Linked DNA regions of Homo sapiens: region 1 is linked to region 2. The links are contacts of gene promoters, found by promoter capture Hi-C in blood cells and fetal thymus (Javierre and others, 2016). All regions are on one chromosome and are shown on one strand. The core of a region is centred on a gene start or on the middle of the fragment in contact, and the rest is flanking DNA. Distances in the headings are between cores, read along the strand shown. Region 1 overlaps BRD8 (bromodomain containing 8). Region 2 holds the start of WNT8A (Wnt family member 8A).

Evidence for each region. The method cuts DNA at HindIII sites, captures the fragments that hold promoters and counts their contacts. A CHiCAGO score of 5 or more calls a contact.
Region 1: a contact is called between a fragment that was not itself captured here and the fragment with the promoter of WNT8A in region 2, in 6 of 17 cell types (M2 macrophages, total B cells, M0 macrophages and 3 more). The highest score is 7.2, in M2 macrophages.

The regions. Positions count from the first base shown.
Region 1 is chr5:138,147,392-138,151,755 of GRCh38, reverse strand. It overlaps BRD8 (bromodomain containing 8), which reads left to right. Exons shown (of 27, transcript NM_139199.2): 22 at 748-1,011; 23 at 1,959-2,116. Among named protein-coding and RNA genes, the nearest start is that of NME5, 10 kb to the right of the region's middle. The HindIII fragment of the contact is 3,230 bases long and covers 239-3,468 here.
Region 2 is chr5:138,081,825-138,086,284 of GRCh38, reverse strand. WNT8A (Wnt family member 8A) reads right to left here and starts at 2,252. Exons shown (of 5, transcript NM_001300939.2): 1 at 2,002-2,252; 2 at 1,649-1,787. The coding sequence starts at 2,157. The HindIII fragment of the contact is 12,012 bases long and covers 1-4,460 here.

The sequences.
Region 1 (4,364 bases), core at 604-3,103, 66 kb before region 2:
GGAGGCGGAAGTTGCAGTGAGCTGAGATCGTGCCATTGGACTCCAGCCTAGGTAACAGAGCGAGACTCCGTCTCAAAAGTAAAAAAATTAAAAATAAAAAAATACATGCTTTTTGACTGAATTTCTAATACTTCAGTCATTAGGGGCCTGGGTCATAAGGACTGCTTTATGAGTATCCTTGTAATTCATGCTTTTGGAGTTGTGGGAAGTTATACTTGCCCAAATTTTCCTTGAAGCTTAAAATGCTGTAACTTTAAGGTAGTATTTTTAAGTGTCATTACCTTGGTTAAGGGCTGAGGACCAGAAATAAACAGAATTGGACAGAGAGTTATATGTATGCTGTTATTGAACACATTTAGAAGACCCTAGATCAAGATCAGCAAGCATCCATTTCAAATGTTGCCACTTCTCTCTACAAGTGTCTGTGGTAGACAAAATTTTCAACACTTTATTCTAGACAGCCACTCCCAATTGATCAGAGTTGACAGCTGAGATGAAAAAGTAGAACATAAACTCCTGGAAGAGGCAAGAACCATATCTTTCTTGTTCACTGTAGTGTCCCCACCAACCAGCCCAGTGCCTGTGTATATAAGATATTTTGGCAGATTTTAGATGATTGTATTAATTAAACCATTTTGTCCTCTCAGACTTAGTCACTGTGACAGTGTTAGCATGTGGCATTGTTGATATGTGGATGATGATTTTCAGTGGTGTTCCTGTGCATCTAATAATAAACTTTGATTGCAGGTAGCTTATTTAATGGAGCCCTTGTGCATCAGCAGCAACGAATCAAGTGAAGGCTGCTGCCCTCCATCTGGTACCAGACAAGAAGGAAGGGAAATTAAAGCTAGCGAAGGAGAAAGGGAGCTCTGCAGAGAGACTGAAGAGCTTTCAGCTAAAGGAGACCCCTTAGTAGCTGAAAAGCCACTGGGAGAAAATGGAAAGCCAGAGGTGGCTTCAGCTCCCTCAGTTATTTGTACAGTTCAGGGACTACTCACAGAGAGTGAAGAGGTAAGAAAGTAACTTAAATCAGCTGTCTTGTTGGTCTTCTGCCTAGGGAAGCAGAACAGAGTAGTTAGAGCACATAGGCTAACTCCAGAAAGTTAAACTACCTGGATCCAAATCCTGGATTTAGCACCAGTTTTAGCTGTGTTACCTTTAGCATGTTAGTGAACATTTTAGAACTTCAGTTTTCTCTGCAGAAATGCAATAATAGCACCCTATTTTGTGGGATTGCTGTGAGGTTTAAATGAGATAATTCATGTAAAGCACTTAGCACAGTGCCTGGCTTATAGTAAGCAATCAGTAAAATTTAGAATACCGTCATCATTATTAATATTATCTGGCAGGTGGGGTGCAATGGCTCATGCCTGTAATCCCAGTGCTTTGGGAGGCAGAGGCAGTAGGATCTCTTGAGCTCAGGAGTTCAAGACCAGTCTGGGCAATACAGGGAGACACCATCTCTACAAAAAACAAAAAACAAATTAGCCAGGTATGGTGGCATGTTCCTGTAGTTCCAGCTACTTAGGGGTCTCGGGGGAGCCCAGGAGTGCAAGGCTGCAGTGAGCCATGATGATGCTACTGCACTCCAGCCTGGGCAACAGAGTGAGACCCTGTCTCAAAAAAAAAAAAAAAATTATCTGGCCAGCTAGAGTAGTTAACTCCAGGGCCACAGGTGATCATGATGGTTTTTAAAGAATCCAATGAGAATTGGGCAAATAATGCTTTTCCATTTTGCTGGAGGTGAGTGGCACAGAGTCAAAGTCCTCCAGCAAGATTGTTACCAAGAACTCATTAACTTAAATCTAGTTAAGTCAGCTTTCTTTAATTTCTTTTGTAGCTTTATGTAATTGACCTCTTCTCACCTTAAGGGCAGCCTTCATTTACTCTATGCAAGTAAAATTACTATGCAGAAAGTAAATCTCCTTCTAAAGTTTCCTGTTTCCTGGCATTCCTAGGGGGAGGCTCAGCAAGAATCCAAAGGGGAGGACCAGGGTGAAGTATATGTGTCAGAGATGGAAGACCAGCCCCCTTCAGGCGAGTGTGATGATGCCTTTAACATTAAGGAGACTCCCTTGGTGGATACACTTTTCAGCCATGCTACCTCCTCAAAGCTGTAAGCGTAGACTTTCATCCAAGTTTGTTAAGATTCGTACTTCTGTTTATGCCTATTTGAATCATGAAATGGATTACTTTTATAAGTTAAAGAAAATTAGAGTTGGAAAACACAAAAAATATAATTAATTAAGTATAATTTTAACATCATATAAATAGAAGTCTATATGCTCTCCTGTTATAAAACAAATATGTTTAATCAATATTAGGACTGTCTTTCAAGGCTAGGTGTGGTGGCTCACACCTGTAATTCCAGCACTTTGGGAGGCCAAGGCAGGAGGATCCCTTGATCCCAGGACTTTGAGACCAGCCTGGGCAACATAGGGAGACCATGCCTCTACAAAATAAAAATTAAAAAAAAATTAGCCAGGTATGGTGTCACTTGTCTATAGTCTCAGGTACTCCGGAAGCTGAGGTGGGAGGATCACCTGAGCCCAGGAGGTCAAGCTGCAGTGAGCCATGATTGTGCCACTGTACTCTAGCCAAGTCTGTATCACTCCAGCCTGGGTGATGGAGCTAATATTATACAAACTATGCCTAATATACAAACTATGGTGCTTTTTTTTTCTTTAATAGAGACAGGGTCTAGCTCCATCACCCAGGCTGGAGTGCAATGGGCACGATCATGACTCACTGCAGCTTGACTTCCTGAACTCAAGGGATCCTCCCACCTCAGGCTTCCAAGTAGCTGGGAATACAGCCATGGGCCACCACACCCAGCTGATTTTTTATTTTTTGTAGACAGGGCTGGCCTTGCTATATTGCCCAGGCTTGTCTTGAACTCCTGGTTTCAAGTGATCCTCCTACCTCAGCCTCCTAAAGTGTTGGGATTACAGGCTTGAGCCACTGTGCCTGGCCCAAACTATACCTCTTTTAAAAATATTAAAATAGATTTTATGAACTTGAAATGGAAAATTATTTTGATGGAGACAAGGAAGAGGATAAAAAAATTTTTTTTTAAAGAAAAAATTAGGCCAGGCGCAGTGGCTCACACCTGTAATCTCAGCACTTTGGGAGGCAGAGGCAGGAGGATTGCTTGAGCTCAGGATTTTGAGACTAGCCTGGGCAATATAGTGAAACCTCATCTTTACAAAAAATAAACAAAATTTATTGGGTGTGGGGGCATGCACCTGTAGTCCTAGCTACACAGGAGGCCAAGGCAGGAGGACTGCTTGAACTTGGGAGGTGAAGGTTACAGTGAGCTATGATCATGTCACTACACAGCCTGGGTGACAGAGCAAGACCCTGTCTCAGAAAACAAAACAAGAAATAAAAGAGAAGAAAAAAATTATTTTGAAGTTTGTGATCTTTGTTTCTTTTTCACATCTCTTAGGGGATTGTTTATGTCAAGCTTGTCTAATCCCTAGCCTGCAGCCCAGGACAGCTTTGAATGTGGCCAAACACAAATTCTTAAAACATTATGAGATTTATGCACTGACCCTTTTTTTTTCCCTTTTTTTTTTCTTTTTTTTTTTTTTTTTCCAGCTCATCAGCTATTGTTAGTGTATTTTATGTGTGGTCCAAGACAATTCTTCTTCTTCCTCCAGTGTGGCCCAGGGAAGCCAAAAGATTGGACACCCCTGGTTTATGCAATTGTCTCATCTTTGTATAGATAATTATAGGACTAAATAACACATTTTCAAATCTTAATGGGGGCTGTTTTTTTTTAACAGGAAACCAAAAAAATATTAATTTTTTTTTTTGAGATAGGATCTCACTCTGTTGCCCAAGTTAGAGTGCAATGGCATGATCTTGGCTCACTTCAGCCTCCGCCTCCTGGGCTCAGGTGATCCTCTCACCTCAGCCTCATGAATAGCTGGGAACACAGATGTGCACCACCACAACCAGCTGATTTTTTTGTATTTTTGTTAGAGACAGGGTTTCATCACATTGACCAGACTGGTCTCAAACTCCTGGACTCAAGCGATCCCCTGCCTTGGCCTCCCAAAGTCCTGGGATTATAGGCATGAACTACTGCATCTGGCATGAAGTGAATTACTTTTTAAAGCAGAAAAACAAAGTTGTTTTTATCTGTGACTCCTGGCCTCAAGTGATTCTCCTGCCTCAGCCTTTCAAAGTGCTGAGATTATAGGCATGAGCCACTACGTCCAGCAAAGTTATTTTTGTTATGGTAATAAATAAATTGTTCTTTTTCCAGCCTGTGTCAGATCCATCTGTTGAGAGAATATAGTATGAACTGTTTTTTTTTTCTTCAGTATATCCCAGATCCACCCAGTTGTCTGTGGAAA
Region 2 (4,460 bases), core at 1,003-3,502:
GATCGCGCCACTGCAAACTAGCTTGGGTAAAAAAGTGAAACCCTGTCTCAAAAATAAATAAAGAAAGAAAGAAATAAAGAATGATGAGAACAAGACCACTTTCCAATTGTGGTGTTGGGATCGGGACCTTGCCCTCTTAGAGTCCAGCCTAGACCTCTGTCCACTAGCCACTGCTGCTAGTCTTTAGGCAGTGAGACTCAGGGCTTGATGCTGGCCTAGGAGAGAGAGGAGGACCTTTGCTGCTTCTGACTGGGAAGTTTGGGCCATGTAATAATCATAATCATCCTGACTGCCACCTACTGAACTCTTATCTTACTAAACTCTTTACAAACATTGTCACATTTTATTTCTACATACTCCCTATTCTATCTGTATACCCCATGGGGAGACATTTCTTTTGAACCTCATCTTTTTTTTTTTTTTTTTTTTTTGAGACAAGGTCTTGCTCTGTCACCCAGGCAGGAGTGTAGTGGTGTGATCATAGCTCACTATATCCTTGAACTCCTGGGTTCCAGAAATCCTCCCAACTCAGCCTTCCAGGTCTCTGGGACTACAGGCACATGCTACCATGCCGGCTAATATTTTTACTTTTATTTTTAGTAGAGACGAGGTCTTGCTATGTTGCCCAGGCTGGTCTCGAACTCCTGAACTCAAGCGATCCTCCTGCCTTAGCCTTCCAAAGTGCTGGGATTATAGGCATGGTTCCAACACGTGCTTAGCCACTTTCTCCGTCTTCTTTACTCTCGTTCCCCTAACTATTCTCAGGTGAATGTTATCTTCAAAAATGACATGCAAACTACGGCACACAGTTACAAATGGGTGCACGTGCACACCCATACACACACATAGACACACACCCCACCTGAGGCACAACTCAATGTGACGTCTCAGCTTTTCTGTTGAGATTTTATGGCAGTTAGCCATGTGAAACTTCCTCAGGAGCTGCAAACACACAGCCCTTTCCCCATTTTTATTTCATGCAACTCAGTGCAAGATCAGTGTGTACAAACGCACAAATATAGGCATGCATTTAAAAAATAGAGTAATTTCCGCTGGGCACGGTGGCTTACGCCTGTAATCCCAGCACTTTTGGAGGCTGAGGTGGGTGGATCACCTGAGGTCAGGAGTTTGAGACCAGCCTGGCCAACATGGTGAAACCCCATCTCTACTAAAAATACAAAAAATTAGCCAGGCATGTTGCATGCCTGTAATCCCAGCTACTCGGGAGGCTGAGGCAGGAGAATCACTTGAACTCCGGAGGCGGAAGTTGCGGTAAGCCGAGATTGCGCCATTGCACTCCAGCCTGGGCAACAGAGTGAGACTCCGTCTCAAAAAAAGAAAAAAAAAAAAGAGTAATTTCCTACATTTATCTCATACATAGAGACACCTCATACCCACCTCATTCAACCCATAGGATACTTCTGATGAACTAAACAGAACTGGCCTTACTGACCCAAATGACAAATCTGGGGCTGAGAGAGGGTAGGTAATTTACTCAAGGCCACACAGCAAGGAAATGGCAGGTCAGCAGGTCACTGGCAGCATTTTTATTTCACTGTGCAATACATGTCACACATATACACATACTGCAAGCCCCACTCCATTCACATATATACCCCTTGTACAGGTGAGTCCCACACAAACTTACCACTTCTCAGCCTGTTGTGGGTGGAGAGCTGAAGAGCATTTTCAGGGCAGTTCCAGCGTTCCCAAGCAAACTGGAACTTGCACTCCTCGATGCCACTCTGGGCACCCAAGGCCACACTAGTCGTGTAGGTCAGATAGGCCTGGCAAAGGGAAAAGGGCTGTGAGCTTCTGCCCGGTATGGGTCATCTGTGGTTGGGGGAGCAGGCAGGACTCAGATGGGCCAGCTCTCCATTAAGAATCAACCATGGGTTCCTCTGGGTGAGGGGCTCTGGCACTGTCCCCGCCCCTCTTTTCTCCAGAAGAGTCCCCTTAGGGCCCTCAGTGGGTAAAAACAGAAGCTGGAGATCATCCTACCTTGGGACCTGTTATCAGGAAATTGTTCACTGACCTACCAAAAAGAGAAAAAGTGAGGCAGAGGTGAATGGGGATGAGACAATGGGGGCCTCCTTGGCAAGGAGTGAGGGTTGGGAAAGGACTTACCAGGCAGAGGCACTGAATGCAGCACAGCATATGCCCAGAGCTGCCCAGAGCATAAACAGGTTCCCCATCGCCCTGCCTACCCCAGTGGACCAGGTCCAGCTCAGGGCCAAGTCCAGAGAAGTGAGGAGAGGGCAGGGTCTTCCTCAGTATTTATGTGAGAAAATTCTGAATGTCCAAGGGAGGAAATCAGCAGCTCTTCTCATTTGTTCCTAACTGGCAGGGCTGCAGGAGCCACCGGCCCAGTGGGGGATCTGGGAGGAGGGACTCAGTTTTCGCCAAAAGCCCCGCCCTGCCCAGCCCCTCCAGCCCTTCTTCCCTCCCAGAATGAGAAGGAGGCTGCTTTTCTCCTATACGTGAGATTTCTTTCTTCTATATGTCAATTTTGTCTCTTCCTGCTTCTTTGGCCCATTTCTCAGAATCATGTAGGCCAGAGCAGGCTGGGTCCTTAACCCTGAAGGCAGGTCACCTATTCTTGGAGCTACAGTGTCCTCATCTGTCAGTGAGAGCCCACTCTCTGTCCTGCCATCCTCCCCAAGGTGTTAATAATCATAAAGCAACTCCATCTGGGGCTGCTTCCTACTCATTTACCTAAACCAGTGAGTGCGCCATCCCTACCACTTCCTTCAAGGCTGTGAGGTGATGGAGCTGTGGGACTATGGAGCAGGAACACTTCAGAGTCCATCTCTGCAACAGTCCCTTCCACCACATTCTAGCAACTGCTGGGAAATTTCCTTAATTCCTAGCAAATCTATCCTTTTATATCTGAGGGTTACAACTCCAGTTAGTTGATTTTTTATATATCTGAGAACCAACCTTAGGGCCACCCAGGGTTATATTTGGGAAGACTGATGCCTTTCTCTTTTTTTTTTTTTTTTGAGACAGAGTCTCTCGCTCTGTCGCCCAGGCTGGAGTGCAGTGGTGCAATCTCAGCTCACTACAACCTCTGCCTCCTGGGTTCAAGTGATTCTCCTACCTCAGCCTCCCAAGTATCTGAGACTACAGGTGCCAGCCACCACACCCAGCTAAATTTTGTATTTTTAGTAGAGAAGGGGTTTCGCCAGTTGGCCAGCCTGGTCTTGAACTCCTGGGCTCAAGTGATCTGCCCACCTTGGCCTCCCAAAATGCTGGGATTATAGGCATGAGCCACTGGGCGTGGCCCTGATGCCTTTCTTTCTGATACTACTTTGTTACTAGGACTTCAGCTCCTTAGGTGGGAATCTGTCTTTTATTTTATTTTATTTATTTATTTATTTATTTATTTATTTATTTATTTATTTATTTTGAGATGGAGTCTCACTCTGTCGCCAGGCTGGAGTGCAGTGGCATGATCTCGGCTCACTGCAACCTCCACTTCCTGGGATCGAGCAATTCTCCTGCCTCAGCCTCCGGAGTAGCTGGGATTACAGGTGTGCGCCACCATGCCCAGCTAATTTTTGTATTTTTAGTAGAGACGGGTTTCACCATGTTGGCCGGGATGGTCTCGATCTCTTAATCTCGTGATCCACCTGCCTCGGCCTCCCAAAGTGCTGGGATTACAGGCGTGAGCCACCATACCCAGCCTTATTTTATTTTATTTTTTGAGGCAGAGTTTCACTCTTGTCACCCGGGCTGGAGTGCAAGTGTGCCATCTCAACTTACTGCAACCTCCACCTCTGTGTTCAAGTGATTCTCCTGCCTCAGCCTCCCCAGTAGCTGAGATTACAGGCATGTGCCACCATGTCCAGCTAATTTTGTACTTTTAGTAGAGACAGGGTTTCCCTATGTTGGCCAGGCTGGTCTCAAACTCCTGACATCAGGTGATCCACACGCCTTTGGCCTCCTGAAGTGCTGGGATTACAGGCATGAGCCACCGCACCCAGCCAGGAATGTCTTTTAGGTTCACTTTCGGTTCTTAGAGCTTAAGAAGGCACCTGGATGAACAAACGAAAGACCCTGTGACCCCTAGTGGGCACCATTAGGTATGCTTGGGGACTAGAACAAAAGGTGGGAAAGTCCTTCTTGGTTGCTGAAGCTCTTTCCTAAGGCTGGAGAAGGAAGTCTAGAGAAGTTCAGAGGAAAGCATAGATGGAAAGTCACAGTTCTGACTCCATCCTGTGACCATTACAACATCCAGATCACTTCCCAGAACTTTGGACCTGGTTTGGGTGGGAAGTGGAGCTCAGAGATCCCCCCACCAAAGGAGTTCCAGGGGCCAAAGAGTCCCCAGGTGTCTTTAGGGCATACTCCAAGTATGGGCCAGGCTTGGCGTCGGTCTGCAAACTGACTGTTGTCCTTCTGACATAAGATAATTACAAAAATAGAAGTGTTTAGAAATTTTTATAGCAATTTGGAGC